Linked DNA regions of Homo sapiens: region 2 is linked to region 1. Evidence: promoter capture Hi-C in 16 types of primary human blood cells and fetal thymus (Javierre and others, 2016). All regions are on one chromosome and are shown on one strand. Each heading gives the region's core, a stretch centred on a gene start or on the middle of the fragment in contact. The rest is flanking DNA. Distances are from core to core; before and after follow the strand shown.

Evidence for each region. Contacts are between HindIII fragments. The CHiCAGO score rates a contact against its expected background, and 5 or more counts as called.
Region 2: a fragment that was not itself captured here is called in contact with the fragment with the promoter of MPHOSPH6 in region 1 in 1 of 17 cell types (monocytes); the score reaches 6.1 in monocytes.

What each region holds. Positions count from the first base shown.
Region 1 is chr16:82,165,933-82,172,269 of GRCh38, forward strand. MPHOSPH6 (M-phase phosphoprotein 6) reads right to left here and starts at 4,292. Exons shown (of 5, transcript NM_005792.2): 1 at 4,193-4,292. The coding sequence starts at 4,243. RefSeq lists enhancers at 1-133, 4,149-4,293, cis regulatory regions at 61, 4,221 and a silencer at 4,268-4,427. The HindIII fragment of the contact is 21,548 bases long and covers 1-6,337 here.
Region 2 is chr16:82,219,783-82,226,119 of GRCh38, forward strand. No RefSeq gene overlaps it. Among named protein-coding and RNA genes, the nearest start is that of MPHOSPH6, 53 kb to the left of the region's middle. The HindIII fragment of the contact is 6,919 bases long and covers 1-5,687 here.

The sequences.
Region 1 (6,337 bases), core at 3,042-5,541:
ACTGATCACTCAAACATAGCTGGTGGGAAAGTAAATGGTACAGCCACTGTGGAAAACAGCATGGCAGTTTCTTAGCAAACTAAACATACACTTACCATATGACCCAGCAACCGTCCACGCAAAATGAGTGCGTGTAAAATGGTGAAATCTGCGTCAGCTCACTGTCAATGTCCTGGCTCTTTATCATATCCTAGTGTTGTAAAATGTTGCCGCTAGGGGAGGTGGCATGAAGGACGCACGGGATATCCCTGTACACTTTTTGCAACTTCCTGTGAATCTATCACTATTTTAAGTAAAAAGTAAAAGAAAACAAGTTTGCAGACTAGTGTTTTGCAGTCGTCATCCATTTTACCTGTGTGTACATCCTCATCCCAGGAAAGAACTGCAGTTTCTGGAATGTGCACGCTATACTTCCCAGTCCTTTTGCCTTTGCGACTTAACACGTTTCCATTTTCTGCCTGGCAAAATATTTACTCTTTTAAGCCTACAGTGTGTGTCCTTTGGTAAGACTTCCTGGTTGGCATTTGGCTTGGCTCTTCCTAGGTCTGCTCCTATAAAGAAGCACATTCTCAAGACAGCCTCATCAACACTGGAATATTGTTCACCATCGTGCTGCTTTGGTGTCTCCCAGGACTACGATTCTGAATAGACCATGACTCTTGTTCATCTTGTATCATTGGTACTTAGGCGGCACCCCTGGTACACAAAAGAGCTCACTCAGTGAAAGTTCTCTGAATGGAAATGAACCTAGACCTATCTTATTTTTCCAGATTCTCTTTCTGGGATGGTTTTCTTTAAATGCAGATGCCTCATTTCATCACTAATATTCCTCGTGGTAAAACTCATCAATACTGCCCAACTGCCCTTTTTTCTCCCATTTAGTCATGTACCTATTCTTTTGGTATACAACAGCCATATACATATGTTCTGTACACATAGAAAGGACAGAACTCCCTGTGAATATGAATCAAGCACCTCCAGACTTAGGTACAAGTTCGATTCTCCTACTCTAGAGCATTTCAGAACACATTCCAAAACTAGTGAGGACTCAGAGCAGGCATCAGCATAATACAGTCCTCAGGCTAGATGTCTGTTGTCGTCGATAAAGTTTTACTGGTACACAACCATGGTCATTCGGTCTTGAACAACACTGGCAGAGCTGAGTAGTTGTAACAGAGACTGTCTGGCTCATAAGACCAAAATATTTATCATATGGTCCTTTACAGAAAGTTTGCCAAGCCCTGTTCTGAGAGTCTAACAGTGCCAAAATCACAAATAAGCACCCTCTACAACCATTCCATACTGGAAGACCTTCCATCCACATCCTTCTTTTTCTTCTTCCCATTAGGATCACCCTGCAATGGCTGACCAAGTCAGAGGCATTGAAGTGAGTCAGGATTAAATCCTCAACCCTCTTATACTTGCCTAAAAAGTGGTCCCCAACCTTTTTGGCACCAGGGATGGGCTTCCTGGAAGACAATTTTTCCACGGGTGGTGGAGAGGGGAAGGGTAGATGGTTTAGGGATGATTCAAGTGCATTACATTTATTGTGCACTTTGTTTCTATTATTATATTATAATATGTCATGAAATAATTATACAACTCACCACAATGAAGAATCAGTGGAAGACCTGAGCTTGTTTTCCTGAAACTAGACAGTCCCATCTGGGTGTGATGGGAGACAATGACAGATCATCAGGCATTAGATTCTCGTAAGTAGAGCGCAAGGTAGATCCCTCATATGCACAGTTCACAGTAGGGTTTCTGATCCTAGGAGAATCTAGGATTCTGCCACTGATCTGACAGGAGGCGGAGCTCAGGTGGTAATGCAAGCTATGGGGAACAGCTGTAAATACAGATGAAGTTTCGCTCGCTTGCCTGCCCGCTGCTCACTTCCTGCTGTGCAGCCTGTTCCTTACAGGTCATGGACTGGTGCTGGTCCATGGCCTGGCGGTTGGGGACCCATGCTATATAGGACTTAGCTCTGGTTAAGGCACCCTAAGTGCAGCTACTCCATGCCTTCTCACAGTATACTCTGTTCTATCAGTATAGACAGTGTCTCCTGCTATCTTGCCAGTAAGTTTTTTCTTATCAATGACCAAAGCTGCTAAACCAAATAGAGAATGTGGGTGATCTTTTTCCTTCTCCTTTGCTTCCAACGTCCAGTTGAGTCTCCCCATTTGGTGGGGGTGGACATTTAAGTTAATTTCTTTCTTCTTAGTTGCAACTCGGATATTTAGTTTGAGCCTGAGTCACCCAGTACATCATCTGGCTTATTCCAAGAGCTAAAACAACTGCTAAAATCTTTCCAATATCTGCTTGGCCAATTCACTCCACTTCTCTGAAGTTAATGTTATTACCAACCATAAAATCAAACTCTGTTCAGTAAAGATTCAAATTTTGCTAATATGCATGAAAGTGCTTGACAAACTCTAAGTTATGCTGCAATTTGTCCTCCACCCTCATTCACCCATTCATCCCTAACTCCATCCTAGCTCAACTCCATTCAAATCTTGCCCATATAATGTTTACTCTCTCTCTTTTTTTTTTTTTTTTGAGACAGGGTCTCCCTGTGTCACCAAGGCTGGAGTGCAGTGGCGCCATCTCAGCTCACTGCAGCCTTGATCTCCCAAGCTCAAGTGATCCTCCCACCTCAGCCTCCCAAGTAGCTGGGACTAAAGGTGCGTGCCACTAGGCCTGGCTAATATTTTGTATTTTTTGTAGAGATGGGGTTTCACCATGTTGCCCAGGATGGTCTCAAACACCTGGGCTTAAGCGATTTGTCTACCTCAGCCTCTCAAAGTGCTGGGACTACAGGCATGAGCCACTGCGAATGGCCTATCTTTCAAAACATTATGAATGCTTCCTTCCCTCTTTTGGAAATTCCACCTCTTTAAACATGACATGTAACAGTTTGCTACTCTCTAGAAGTAGTGCTTAGTGACAGGCATCACAGAGTACAGAGTAGTAATAAAGAGCCAGGGTTCTGGAGCCAGACTGCCTGAATTCCCGTCCTGTCTACACTACTTATTAGCTGTGTAACTTTGGGTAAATTACTTATTTCTGTTTCAGTTGCCTTAGCTGTAAGAAGAGAGTTACTGCCTGTAGTCACCTCAAAGTGTCATTATGTGAATTGCATAGGTTAATATACGCAAACCACTTCAATCATTGTCTAGTACTATAAATATTTGCCATTTTCTTGATACTGTTCCCCGTTTCAATAGCTTTCCATTGCTCACAAAATAAAGGAAAATATCTTTAATCTGGCCTCAAATTCCCTGCACGTTGTGACCATTGCCTACTCTGCAACCCCATTTCTTAGTACTTGCCTTCCAGACATACTGAATTGTCTCTAATTCTTGGAAATTTCCATGGTTTTCTTTTTCTTTCTTGCCTCTCAGACTTCTGAACTCAGTTTCTCCTAGTTTAGGACGCTGTGCCTTCCACCCTCCCAGTAACCTAGAGACTACCCTGCGAGACTCACCCTCTTCTCCCTGGAAGAAGAGGGAGTTCTGCCAGCAGACTGTCTTTGGACTTGGACTGAGTACTTCTCTGGGTCTCCAGCCTACTGGCCCACCCTGCAGATTTTAGACTTGCATCTCCACAGTCGTGTGATCCAGTTTTAAAAATACCCCCTCTCTCCATACACATATATACACATATACATCTTGTTGATTCTGTTTCTCTGAAGAACTCTACTAAAAGAAGTATTATCAAAATTAAAAAGGAGCTTGAACTCATGTAGCCTAATGCTCTTCTTTTTAAAGATGAGGAAAAGAGATATTCAGAGAAAGAAGTGAATTTACCTAAATTACCCAGCTAAGGAGTTACACTTCCCATATATCATATTTATTGCATATATAAGTAAGCAACAACTTCTCGAGAAGCTCGGTGAGTCCCCAAGGTCCCCAGCGCTTCTACCCTCACTGCACTGGGTAAGCTGTACCCTGACTGCTTCTGTGTACTCAAGCTCCCATCCGCCCGCGGGCCTCCTGAGAGAGTCGGCCTAATTCGTAAGCTGGTTCCCAGTAAACAGTGCAGAGCAGGCGCTAAGTGAATGAATGAGCACGAGAGCTGGAAGCCCTCTGAGGCCTCTCTGGTGTCCCTTGTCCGCCCGCCGCCTCGGCCCCGGCCAGGTTGGAAGGACCGGGTGCCCCTACCGCCCGGAGTGGCGCTCTCAGCGTCCCCGCACCTTCATGCGCAGTAGATTCTTGGACAACCTTGTCTTTCGCTCGGCCGCCATGGTAGCTTCCGCCCAGCGCCGCACTCCGGCCGCGAGCCTCACCGCACATGCGCGGAGCCGCGTGCGCAGCTGCGTCCCTCGCGTAGTGCGCGCCGCCCCGCCCCGCCCCTCCCCTGTGTCTTGCGCGCGGGCGCGGCCACTCAGCGGGCGCTCTGCTGACTGAGAGGCTCGGGTAAGCTCGCGGGGTGGCGGGCGCGGGGATGAGCGCGGCAGACCGCAAAAAAGCCGAAGTCAGAGGACGACCCAGAACTTGGCTTCCCCGAGCCGCGGGTCGCCTTCCCGGGACGTCGGCCTGGCCCCCTCGGAGGCCCATCCTCCCTCGGGGACTCCCTTCCTCAGGGACCCCCTCCACACTCAGTAGTCCTCGCCAGCCTCAGAGAGGTTTCCGCCACGCCTGCCACCCGCCTGGGCCGTGTTACCCACGTGTTTTGTCTTCATAACGTGGGTGGCGGGCTCCCTTTGTTCTGGGTCGCTTTGCAGGGTCCAGGTCGTTTTCTCTTCACCAGGACCCCACGAGTTGCTGCTTTCCTCACAGCAGCCCGGAGTCCCGGGGGAGCGCGGCGGGGGCCGCCCCAGGCAGGCTGGCTTCATTCCCAGGCTGCTGCCGATGCGTGTCTGGCCGAGTGATCTCTGCTAAACAGAAGAATCTCAAGAAATGGCAAGGGATGGAGGCAGGGATGGGTGCCAAAGACACATGAATGAGAACAAAGCCTGGTTTTGATCCAAAGAATTGAAAAGACCATAGCGAGGGGCAACATAGGGAGACCCCACCTCTACAAAAAAAAAAAAAAAAAAAAAAAAAAAAAAAATATATATATATATATATATATATATACACAAAAAATATACAAAATATACATACAAAAAATATATACAAAATATACAAAAAATGTACAAAAGATACAACAAAAATAGCTGGGTGTGGTGGCACGGATCTGTGGTCTCCACTACTTGGGAGGCTGAGGCTGGAGAATCACTGGAACCCGGGACGTCGAGGCTGCAGTGAGCTGACATCCCGCCACTGGACTCCAGTCTGGGCTACAGAGTGAGGCTTTGTCTCAAAAACAAAACAACAAAACAAAAAAGAATTTAAAAAACCACTGAAAATAGGGTAGCGTTCCTACCCTGGTGTTTAATGCTCTGGGTACCACCTAAACACGTTTTCGAAAACCATTCCCAGGTCCGACGCTTTGGAACACCCTCAAGCTAATAGCATCTCGGCTGATACCATGAGTTCTACGTCAGATTGTTGACCTGGTCACCTTAGGGCTAATTAGTTCACTTAATCCCCATAAGAACCGGAAAGAAGGTATTGTCATCGTGTTGTTAAGGATTCTGAGACACAGAGTGGGTAACGCACTTGGTGTTCACACAGCTAATCCATGTTAGAGCTGAAATTCAAACACCGATTTGGATGTTAAAAGCCCTTTAGGTTTTCCCAGGGGTAAATAAAATCATTGTAATGTACCAAGTGGCTACAGAATCTCATTCACTTGTGACTGTGTGTGAGATGCCGGGGGTATAATAGCGTGTAAAAACACATATCCCCACCTTTCCTGAAGCTGATATTCTGGACGTAAGTAAGTGGCGACTGCTATGAAAGAGAGAAAACAGTGATGTGACAGAGTAACGCTTAGGGTTACTTTAGACCAGGTGGTTTGGAACGGCCCTTGTCAGATGATGGTGCTAAGGCTTGAAAGTTGAGAAAAACGTGTTTTATGAAGAGTTGGAGGTAGAGTGTGCTCAGAAGACAGCATCAACTGTAAAGGTCCTCAGATATGAACAAGACAAAGTCCGTGTTAAAAGTTTTACAAGTGGAAACAGTAGAGGTTAATCATAAGCCACATTGCATCCCCCAAAATTCATATGTTGAAGTTCCAACTCCCAGTGCCTCAGAATGTGAATGTATTTGGAGACAGTCCTTTTTAAAGAGGTGATTAAAACAAGACCCTTAGGGTGAGCCCTAATCCAGTCTGACTGATGTCGTCATAAGAAGAGGAAATTTGGACACAGACACCAAGGTTGTGTTTGCATAAAGGAAAGACTATCTGAAAGCCAAAAAAATAAAAAAAATTTAAAAAATCTCTCAGGAGA
Region 2 (6,337 bases), core at 978-3,477, 52 kb after region 1:
GTTGTGGGTATGGTTTCCATGTACCTGGGGCTGGTGTGTGTATGCACGCATTCAGATGCTTACATATGTGCGTATGTGACCGTCCTAATTTAAAATATTTTATGCTGTTTTCTTTGTCAACCACCAACATATTCCCCAACGATAAAATTCTTATGTCTAAGCCACATTTCCAAGGGGTCAGAGGGTGGGTGGGTATACAGGAGGGGGGATGGAAAACAAATTCTGGCTGGGGTTATGCTGTTTAACGATTTATAATTTCTATTCTAACTGTGTACCATCCATTCGCACAATAAGTATATTTTCTTTGTTAAGAAAAACTCAGAAAGAAGTACAGCAGATTACCAAATATAGAAAGCAACTTAAGTATTCATCTTTCATAAAACTTGTTTTGGTAAATGGTTTCATTCTGAGAATCTTTTATATTTTAATTTTAAAACAATTGAAAATAATTGATGTGTTTATGGCCTTCGTTTGTATTCTTGAAAGGAATATCTCGGATCATCAAAATGTTGCCAACTTCTACATCATGTGCCAGATGTGTGGGGCTGAGACAACTGTAAAGAAGTAGTGTGTGGTGTGTGAGGTGTATGAATGTGGTTTGTGTGTGTGATGTGTGTGTGTGGTGTGTGTGATGTGGTGTGTGGGGTGTGTGGCGTGGTGTGTGTGCTGTGTGTATGGTGTGGTGTGTGTGCTGTGTGATTCGTGGTGTGTGTGCTGTGGTTCATAGTGTTTGTGTGTGGGTATGTGATTGTGTGTGGTGTGTGAATGTGTGGTGTGTGTGTACGATGTGTGTTGTGTGGTGTGTGTGTGCTGTGGTGTGTGGTGTGTGTGTGGTGTGGTGTGTGTGGTGTGTGTATGATGTGTGTGTGTGCTGTGCATGGTGTGTGTGTGGTGTGTGGCATATGCGTATGATGTGTGTGGTGTGAGTGTATGATGTGTATGTGGTGTGTGGGGTGTGTGTGGCGTGTGCATGGTGTGTGTGGTGTGTGAGTGTGCGGTGTGGCATGTGTGGTTTGTGTATGTGGTGTGGGGTGTGTGTGGTGTGTGTGTGATGTGTGTGTGTATGATGTGTGTGTGTGTGTTGTATGGTGTGTGTATGATGTGTGTGTGGTATGGTGTGTGTGCAGTGTGTGTGGTATGTGTGTGTGGTGTGTGTGGTGTGTGGTGTGTATATGATGTATGTGTGTGTGTATGGTGTGAGTGTGTGACATAAGCATGGCAAAGGGCAGGATTACACCGAAAGCCAAAGCAAGAACCTTCTTTTTTTCCATCTTTCCTTTCTTTTCTTTTCTTTCCTTTTCCCCTTTCTTTTCTCTTCTGATTACTTCAGTCTTCTCTTCCTCATTTTCCCTTTTATTCTATACTTCCCTTTAAAAATGTTTCATAACTTTAAAAAAATTGACATATCATAGTTCGTACTTGGGGGGTACACGTGATGTTTTGATACCTATATACAATGTGTAGTGATCAAATCATGGCAATTGGGTTACCTATCACCTCAAACATTTTTCTTTCCCCTGTGTTGGGAACGTTACAATTCTTTCTCTTCTAGCTACTTTTAAATCTACAATAAATTATTGTTAACTATAATTTCCCTACTGAACTATCAAATACTAAAACTTATTCTTCCATGTAACTGTATTTTTGTACCCATTAACCAACTTCTCTTTCCCCCTTTTCCTCCTTCCCTCCCCAGCCTCTGGTAAGCACTATTCTACTCTCTACCGCCATGAGATCTATTTTTTTTTAGCTACCACATAGGCATGAGAACATGTGATATTTGTTTTTGTGTGCCTGGCTTATTTCACTTAACATAATGACCTCCAGTTCCATCCATGTTTCTGCAAATGACAGGGCTTCACTCTTTTTATTGCTGAATAATATTCCATTGTGTATACAAACTACATATTCTTTATCCATTGATGCACACTTAGGTAGAGTCCGTATCTTGACTGTTGTGAATAGTGCTCTAATAAACATGGGAGTGCAGTATATCTTCAATATAATGATTTCCTTTCTTTTGGATATATACCCAGCGGCGGTATTTTTGGATCATATGGCAGTTCTATTTTTAGTTTTTTGAGGATCTCCATAATATTTTTCGTATGGCTGTACTACTTTGCATTTCTACAACAGTATACAAGAATTCCCCTTTCTCTGCATTCTTTCCAGGATTTGTTTTATTTTATTTTATTTATTTTATTTTTGAGATGGAGTCTCGTTCTGTCACCCAGGCTGGAGTGCAATGGCATGGTCTTGGCTCACTGCAACCTCCACCTCCTGGGTTCAAGCGATTCTCATGCCTCAGCCTCCTGAGTAGCTGGGATTACAGGTGTGTGCCATCATGCCCAGCTAATTTTTGTATTTTTACTAGAGATAGGGTTTCGCCATATTGGGCAGGCTGGTGTGGAACTCCTGACCTCAAGTGATCAGCCTGCCTCAGCCTCCCCAAGTGCTGGGATTACAGGTGTGAGCCACTGTGCCCTCCGGGATTTATTATTTTGTATCTTCTTGATAATAATCAATCTAACTGGAGTGAGATGATATCTCATTGTGGTTTTGATTTGCATTTCCCTGAAGATTAGTGATGTTGAGTTTTTTTTTTTTTTTGCTTAACTTTCGGCCATTTGTATATTTTCTTTTGAGAACTGGCTGTTCAGGTTTTTTGCCCATTAAAAAAAACTAGGAATGGGGTCAACTGGGGTGTTGCCCAGGCCAGCTTCAAACTCCTGGGCTCAATCCTCTTGCCTCAGCCACCTGAGTAGTTGGGACTATAGGCATGTGCCTCTGTGCCTGTGTCCGTTTTAAGATCAGATTATTTGCTGTTGTTTGTTTTATTGCTCTTGAGTTGTTTGAGTTCCTTATATATTCTGGTTGTTAATTCCTTATCGGATGGTGCTATAGTTCGGATATCTGACCTTCCAAACCTTCTATTGAAATTTGATCCCCAACAATGGAGGTGGGGCCTAATGGGAGGTGTTTGGGTCATGGGGGCAGATCCCTCATGAATGACTTGGTGCCATCCTTGTGGTAATGAGCGAGTTATCCCTCTATTAGTTCCAAAGAGCTGATTGTTTAGAGTCTGGTGGTACCTTTCACCCCTCTCTCTTCCCTGCTGTCACACCGTGTGGTCTGTGTACACACCTGCTCTCCTTCACCTTCCACCATGAGTGGAAGCAGCCTGAAGCCCTCACCAGAAGCAGAAGCTGGTGCCAGGATTCTTGTACAGCCTGCAGAACAGTGAGCTAAATAAACCTCTTTTCTTTATAAGTCACCTAGTCTCAGGTATTCCTTTAAAGCAACACAAACTGAGACAGATGGATAGTTTGCAAATATTTTCTCCCATGCTGTAGGTGGTCTTTTCACTTCATTAATTGTTCTCTTTGCTGTGCAGAAGTTTTTGGCTTGATACAATCACATTTGTCTGTTTTCGCTTTTGTTACTGATGCTTTTGAAGTCTAACCCCCAAAAATCTTTCCCCAGATCAAAGTTTTTTTTTTTTTTTTTCTAGTAGTTTCATAGTATCAGGTCTTACCTCTAAGTCCTTAATCCATTTGGAGTTGACTTTTGTATAGGGTGAAAGATGGGGATTTATCTCACTTTTTCACATCCACTATACTTATCTTCCCTCCTATCTTTTTTGTATACATGGTTATAGGATTTTCACCAGTGTTTTATTATGTTTTTAGAAAACATGTTTTGCAGAAGAGAAACTCTTATGAATTTTCTGTTGTGCTTCAAATCGTAATCATTCAAGGAATATATCCCAAATAGCTCTGATAGGAAACACTATTGAACAATTAGTAAGATATGTTCATAAGAATCATTATGAGGAATAAAAACAACTAAGGTTCTTAAAAAGAAAAAAATACTTCCAACTGTAAAAATATCATTTTTTATTAGAATGATCTTCATTTACTTCAACACAAATAAATTTAAAGCAGCATTAGAAAATGTAGCATTTAATAAAGTCTTTATACATCCTGTTCTCAACTGACATTTTTTCCTTAAGAAATACCTGAATTTGGTTGTGACATTAAATTCGCAAAGTTTGGCTCTGTATTTTTAGTGCCTTATTTGTGATTTTGTTGTTTTAAAATAAAAGCTATTCAGTGTGAATAAATTTGAATTGGCAAGCAGAATGGCCTACTACCAAACATTCAGTAACCAGATTCAATAACCACATGCCAAGCCAGAACATTGGAAAAATCCTCAAGTTAATTAAAACAAAGGCTTTAATATTTCTTAGCATTTGCAGCTGTTCTATCCAGAGAGGGCAGGCGCCTGCTGGGTTGTGTTAGCCTGGGATTAGTAGTTCAGGAAAAAGCAAAAGCAAAGTGAGCTCGTTTATTAAGTTTTCTGATGTTCAGTTTCTTCTGTGAAATGGGTATAATAGTAATAGTACTTACCTTGTAGGTATTCATATTATTATAAAATAAGAAATTGGGTATATGAAAAATTGAGTATGGTATATATTAGTTATTATTCAGTGCTCAGAGGGACAGAGGTCATTGTTCTCAAAGGTTTTGCTCTAAGTTTCATTTTTGCTTTTCATTTATGGTTTGACTGCAGCAGACATCTGTATCCATTGTCTTGATGAGGTCTTAATACCTTCATTGAAAATTTTATGAGAGGATAATAATAAGCTCATTTAAAAGTTTAAATGTCCATGGTCATTATATTAAAGTTCTCCAGAGAAATAAAACCAGTAGAATATGTAAAGAGAGATATGAGAAGTGATTTATTATGAGGACTGGCTCACTTGGTGAGGCAAGAGAAGACCCTTGATATGCCATTTGTAGCTGGTGGGGTAATTCAGTTTAAGTCCAAAGGCCTGAGAACCTGGAGGGTGGGGAGGTGGGTGGTTGGTGCGGACATAAGTCCTGGAGTCTGAAGGCCCAAGAACCAGGAGCTCCATTGTCAAATGCCAGGAGAAGATGGATATCCCAGCTCAAGAAGAGAGAAAGAGAGAGAATTCACCCTTCCTCCATCACTTTGTTCATTCGTGCCCTCAATGGATTGGATAGTGAAGATTGATCTTCTTTGTTGAGTTTACTGATTCAAATGCTAATCTCTCCTAGACTCACCTGGGAATAATATTTTACTAACTATCTGGGCATGCATTAGCTCAGTCATGTTGACACATAAAATTAACCATCATAGTCATTATCTTCAAAAAGTCCCTGGGACTGTGAGTTTCTTAAGGAAAGTCCATATATTATTATTCATGTCACTGCCTGGTTCTTGGTTGATGATAAGGCAATGCTTGTAGCATGACCCAATCTACGACCCTGTTTATAGGAGGCGATGGTGATCCAGTCCATTATTAAGCAATTAGCATTTGGGAATCAAGCACATGCAGTTCAAGAGAATACCCTAAATGATCCTTTATTCTCAAGTTGAACTGAGTCCATAGGTAGAATAAGATTTTGGAGTAGCCCCCTTTTGTCTTCAGCTTCAGACCTGTTTATTCTTCTTGGCCTCTGCAGCAGCTTCTCAACCATCCAGCTCCATTTGGCTCCACTCTAGAATGAGTGGTGGTTGTGGTAGGTTTTGATCCTGACAACTGGATCTTTTATACTGCCAACATTGATCCCATGGCAGTTTCTGTTTGTTATGATGCTAATAGTCTTCATCTCTTTTTCTTCTACATTGAATTTTATCACTAAATTCTCCTTCTGGCACCAAGCTTTGTATGTGCCATACCCTAGAAAGATGATAAGGTGGATGGGGCCAGGGTGAAGAAAAAGAAAGTTCATCTCATCACAAATAAATGAACCTACAGAACAGAGGATATTCAATTAAGATCTACATTTTTGTTTCCCCTACACAAACCACCACAGCTTTTTCAGTAGAAAAAATATTTTTAGTGGAAGCTGAAGTTACCAACATCATTGAGGTTGGAAGAAGAATCTTTTCTGGCAGCTGAAAGTAAACGAAAAGAGTCGTAGCCACTGACAGTGAGTTGTGTGTGAAAGCAGCAACCCCAGGCTCACTGGCAAGGAATAAAGATGCCAGAGAGCACTGCCTGATTGAAGAAACCGAGGGGAGAGACCAGTCTGAGATGCTGCGGATGGCCAGTAGCTGGACTGCTTGATAAATGGGGTCCTGGCTATACCACTTCATAGCTGTAATCTATGCAAGTCACTTGATCTTTCTTAATCTGAGGTTATCACCATAAAATGGAGGAACAAATACTTGAAATCTGCTCTACTTCATAGGATTGCTGTTATTGTAAAAAAAATGACAAAAATAAGTAGTCAGTCAAATGCTTCTGTTAGATGAGCAAATGGGTCCCATACAGGAAAGGAATTATGGACCAAAAGCCAGAATTAAT